2 separate regions of the Homo sapiens genome follow, and region 2 is linked to region 1. Evidence: promoter capture Hi-C in human tissues and cell types (Jung and others, 2019). All regions are on one chromosome and are shown on one strand. The core of a region is centred on a gene start or on the middle of the fragment in contact, and the rest is flanking DNA. Distances in the headings are between cores, read along the strand shown.

Evidence for each region. Contacts are between HindIII fragments. The study calls those that stand out against the background at their distance.
Region 2: a contact is called between a fragment that was not itself captured here and the fragment with the promoter of BBIP1 in region 1, in 1 of the 25 tissues and cell types used here (dorsolateral prefrontal cortex).

The regions. Positions count from the first base shown.
Region 1 is chr10:110,917,754-110,920,453 of GRCh38, reverse strand. It overlaps BBIP1 (BBSome interacting protein 1), which reads left to right and starts at 1,274. Exons shown (of 4, transcript NM_001195305.3): 1 at 1,274-1,333; 2 at 2,241-2,333. The coding sequence starts at 2,297. SHOC2 (SHOC2 leucine rich repeat scaffold protein) reads right to left here and starts at 850. Exons shown (of 9, transcript NM_007373.4): 1 at 797-850. RefSeq lists silencers at 391-480, 491-930, 1,781-1,940 and enhancers at 1,151-1,200, 1,221-1,420, 1,110-1,649. The HindIII fragment of the contact is 6,231 bases long and covers 1-2,700 here.
Region 2 is chr10:112,134,305-112,137,004 of GRCh38, reverse strand. No RefSeq gene overlaps it. Among named protein-coding and RNA genes, the nearest start is that of GPAM, 48 kb to the left of the region's middle. The HindIII fragment of the contact is 3,996 bases long and covers 1-2,700 here.

The DNA.
Region 1 (2,700 bases), core at 25-2,524:
ATGGTACAAAAACAATGGATATTGAGGTGCTGGGGGAAAAATCGTCTTGCCCCAAAGCCTCTTGTGTTATGAGCCTGGGGAAGTCGGGGAAGAGTGAGACTACTTTTCCTCTCTCCCTAAAAGCTGTGCTATCACGGGGAGAGGTTGCCATCGGGCATGTTCTACGAGGCGGTCTCGAAGGGCTACAACTCGCTTCGCTAGGCAACACACCCAGAGCCGATCCAGCACTCTTCACTCAAGGGTTTTTAGGGAGAGGAGAACGGGAGAGCAAGGTGGACTCCAGGGAGGGGGCGAGAAGAGACCCCACCCTGTATGACCGCCGCTGCGCCCGGGCCCTCGCCAACGATTTACACGACTCGGGGCGCCCTGCGGACTGGGCCCGGGGGCCCAGGGAGCCGAGAGGAGAGAGACTGTCCGCCGGGGGCCCCCGGCCCGCGCCCTCGCGCCGGCTCGCCGTCGCCCAGGCGCTGTCCGGGCCGCCCGCCGCCGCCGCCGCAGGCCCGGCCCCGGCCGCTGTCACACCCGACCGCCTTCCTCTCCGCGCCGGGCTGCAGGCTCCCACGCGAGCCGGCTCCAAGGGCCCCGCACTCCCGGAGACAGCAACCAGGAAAGCGGCGGCGGCGGCGCCTCCCAGGGCCCCGGCCCCTCGGGCCTCGCCCCGGCGCTGCCGGCTCGCGCCTGTCAGGGCGCACGGGGCCTCCCCCTACCGACAGCCAGCCCGACTGCCCGACGGACAGGAAGGCAGGCAGGAAGAACCGACCAACAGACACCCTCCGCCTCATCGGCCCCGAGTTACCGTCAGGAGCCCCGACTCCGCCATCCTCCTCGCTCGCCCTCCTTCCTCCTCTTCCTCCTCCTCCTAAGAAGCGACGCTGCCCAACCGCCGCCCCCCGCCCGCCCCTCCCCCACTCGCCCCGCCCCGCCCGCCCCGCCACTACTCTCGCTCCAGCCTCCCCGCCCCACCCCTCTGCCGTGGGCCCGTCACTCGCTAGGCAAGAAAAATGGGCGGAACCGGGGCAAGAGAAGCTGCCCAATCAGAGACGGGCAGTGCCGCCAGCTTCTCTCTCTCCGCCCTTGTCCTTTCCTCAGTTCCTCTACGCCGTCTCCCGCCCACTGGGCGCCTCTGGCTAGCCGGGCTACAGAGTAAGCCTCCAGCAGGGTAGAGTGACAACTCCCCGATCGGAAGTTACTGTTGAAGCTAAGGCGGCCATAACTGATAATGGCAAAAGGAGATTCCTGGCTTCCTGTTTCCAGGGTGACGTAGATTTTTTTCCTTCGCCAGTCTCACCGTTACCCGGGGCAACAGCTGAGCCGTCTGGGAAGGGATGCATCTGTAAGTAAGCCCAAAGAGGTACCGTGGGTGACCACACATCCCATGTTAGACAAGTTAATTCATACTCCGGATTACACGTCCAGTTTCCTGGCCCTTATTTTACTGAGACGTCTGGTCACTTACGGAGATGGACAACAGTTTAGGGCTCCGAAATTCCCTCTCCTGCCCGGAAGTTGCATTTGGCACTTCCGAATTGGGTCATGGCGGAAGGGTGTTAATAGCCTGGCCGCCCGTGCCCCAGGGAATGCTTATTTTTGACCTTAGTTGCAAAGTGAGGTGAGTCCGTGGACCCCAACCAGTGGGCCGGACCCGGGCCGGACGGTCCCTGTGGGACAGAGCGCTGAAATGGCGAGCGGGGCTCAGGGCCGCTTCCGTTGGAAGGCGGTTTTTTTCCGGGCTGGCCTGGCGGCGGCCCGCCCCCGTGAGGCTCCCTGTGGGGTGAGGCCGCTCTACAGGCCGCCCTAACCCAGCCAGAGGCAGCCCGGCCGGGAGGACCCCAGCGGGGAATGGGCGGGGACCTCGGGGCGGAGCTCCTAACTCCGGCAAAACGGAGCTCTTGACCACGCCTCCGCAAGTTCCTATTAAGTACTTTCACTCCTTGGCCTTTGGAGGGAGGAGAATTCGGGAACTTCAGAAAATCATTTTCCACCTTCACCTATAAAAGGAAAAGATGAGCCCCTACCACCAGGGCAGGACCTCAATCTTTTTCCCCTGCCACCTGCCTTCCCATTCTGATTTTTCCCCCCTTTCCGCGTCTCTCCTTTGAGTCTTTGTAAGCTTTGACTGCGGTTCTGGTGGTGGGATTCCTGCAGGTCTACAGTTTCTTAAACAACGTGTTGAAGATTTTTGAAAATACTGTATTGCTTTTATATGGCCCTTTACAAAGTTATCATACATTATCTTGTAGTTTCTTCTGTATGCTTGAGTCAAGAACTCTAAGTCATCTTGGTAATACCGGGTTGGATGCTTAAAGCTGCAGCAAAAAGACCAGAACTTTCAGGTAAAATTGAAAATGGTTAATATCCAGCCAGTCAACAATACAGATGCAAACCTACCTTCTCGACTTAATTTCTGCTTCCTTAGTACTTACACGCCAGCCAAAATGAACTACTCTTGTTTCTTTGCTGTTAATTACTGAAATCTGTTGTAGCAGTCACCTTTTGTGATTCTGTATCTGATTCTGTTACCCGTGGAGATGTGTTTCCAGATTCTTCCCAGCAGGAAGTAATTTCCTCTGAGTTTAGCATTTTTTGTACATCTTTTATGACAATCAGTATGTTATATATATATAATAGCGCTTATGTTTTTAGCTTCACTACCATGTCTGCACCTAAATAGAATGGTTTGTATCAGATTCGTCTTCCCGT
Region 2 (2,700 bases), core at 131-2,630, 1.2 Mb before region 1:
GTGCAAAATGGGATCAGAGCAGAGCTGGGAGGCTGGGGATGCTGGGTGTGGAGGGAGGAGAGGAAGAGGAAGGAGAGGGCAATGAGCTGGTCTTGGAAGCTTGGGGAAGCATTCAGACAGGCACAGAGGAGCCACATTAAACAAGGGTTTGGCCCAGTAGCCACCTGGGCTGCCAGTGTTCTAGAACTAGGAAACCAACCCAGGAAGCTGGCTCTGCTCCTGGCCCCCAAAGCCCTTTCCTCTAGGCTGTTCTAGGCCAAGGAACGGAGGGGAAATGTTTTCCTTATTCCATTCTGGCCTTTAGCTGTGGTATCGCCTGCCAAGCTCTCTGGAGGATCCAGGGGGACCGGCCATCAGATCCCCCCAAACAGCTGTGCTCTTCTGTCCAGACACTGTTCAGCCACAGCCTTGGGCTGGGCCTTTCCTCTGTGTCCTGGGCCGAGGACCCAGAGCTGCTGGGGGCCTGTGTGCCCCACAGGATCCATGAAGGTCTCCACAGCTGCAGGTGCAGGTGTCATAATCTGCATAAGTTGCAGTTCATGTGATTGTCACCGCCAGAATCTCTGAATATTGCTCACCTGGGTATGGAGCTGCCCGAAGTTCTTGTGTGGGTTTTCAGCCATACTTACATGGGTTATAGGCATGCTGGACCATTGGTAAAATCACATTGGCAGGCTGTGTTTTCTTCTCCCAGCTGTTAAAGCTGCAATTCTGGCAGTCAGAAGACGTCGCTTACTTGGTGGTTTCTAGCAGCCAATTCCCCTGTCTGAAAAGGATCCCTCATGGGGTTTGTTGTGTTATGGGCTTGTCTGAAATGTTAACCTATTTGTTCTTAAATGTCATCGGTGAGTGATTTTTATCACAATGAGAGTCTCATTGATGAAAGTCGTTGAGAGCCCGAGGACTTTGTGCAGAGTCTCTGTGGACCACGAGGGAATCTAGCAGAGAGGGGAGGTGGGTGGGTTGGATGTGGTGGTGCCTTTCAAGCTGAGGCCATGGGAGCTGCTTCGGGCTGGCCATTTGGGCAGTTCCCTTCAGTACAGGCCTCACCCCCAAGCAATGTTGTGTTACAAAGGCAGGTTCACCTGAAACTGGGAGGCAATGGGCAATGGTCAGATTTCCATCCATTTCCTGTCACAGCATGGCCATCAGGAAGAGTGACTTAAGAGGCTCAGAGAGGTTGAGATTCTTGCTCAGGACCACACAGCAAAGCAGAGACAGAGTAATGCTGAGAAGGCAGATTTCTGCATCGTATCTTTTGGACTTCTTTCAGCAAAGTGGGACCCTGAAAAGCCAGGGATGCAGAGTTCATTCATTTGGTTGGTCAAATAGTACTTACTGAGTGCTTACGGCATGCTAGGTGCCGAGGACAGCTCAGTCTAATGGGGGATGCCCCTGCAGAGTGTCAGGATGATCCTGGGGAGACGCCCACTTCAGCCGAGTTGGGTATCAAGCAAGCTTCTTGGAAGAAGCAAAAAATACCTGCGCCCTGTTGGAGGATAATCAATTAATTTGATGCTCCTTTGAGACTGTCCCAAGAGAAACAGAGAGTAAACACTCATAAACAAATAGCAGAAATAATGAACAGGGATGGAGTTCTTGCTAGACACTACTCCCTGCAGGCAGGAGCCCCTACCCGTGGGGACACTGAGGCTCAGGGAAGCCAGGAATGGTTGGGAGGGCCCCAGCCGGTCAGTGGTGGAGCTGGGAGTCCCCTCGGTAGAGTTTTTTTTTTTTTTTTAAACTTCTGTTCATCATGGAAAATTCCAAACATGTACAAAAGTGGAGAGAACAACAAAGTACCATGATCCCAACATCCATCTTCAACATTTGCCAACTTAGGGCCAATTTCATTCTGTCCATACCCTCTCCACTCTCCCACTACTGGAGTATTTCATAGTAAATCTCTGACATCATCTCATTTCATCCGTAAGTATTTCAGCAGGCAGCTCTAAAGGATAATGACTCTTTAAAAAAAAAACCTAGTCACAATCTCATTATCACACCTAAACACATCAACAGTAATTCCAGTCAGTGTTCAATGATCAATTGCCTCAATTTTCTTTTCTTTTCTTTTTTTTTTTTTACCAGTTGGTTTGTTCAACTCAGGATCCAAATAAAATCCACACATTGCATGCAATTTCATTTGAACTGTAGTTTTTCTCTCTCTTTCTTTCCTTACAATGTAATTGTTTACACAATGTGGTCATCTCTTCTATGGTTTCCATACCTCACATTTGCTGTTTGTATCCCTGGGGCCCTGTTTAGCATGTTCCTCTGTCCCCCGTATTTCCTGTAACCTAGAACTTGAATCGGGAGGCTTGAGCAGATTCAGGTTTGAGTTTTTGTAGTGCCAGTGTGTTGAAGCACAGATCACAGGCAGCCTGCTGAGCTCTGTGTGTGTGTGTGTGTGTGTGCCAGTGTGCCTGTGTGTGTGTGCACACATGTGTATGTGCCTTTGGGCTTTTCTCTTCTCCCTTGGCCACTTCTCAGAAACCACTGCTTTCCACTCTCTGGTAGTCACAGGCTCCTCTTAAGGTTACAAAACTGCTTCAAGGCTGCTTGTCAAAGAGCAGGCAAGGAGCAAAGAGCAAGTATTTCTCCTTGTCAAAGCTTCAAAGAAGCCTTCAGCACAGACAGAATTTCTTTTAATGTCTGCACTTCAGTTTCCTCCTGCTGCCTCCTTCTGTTGCCCATATT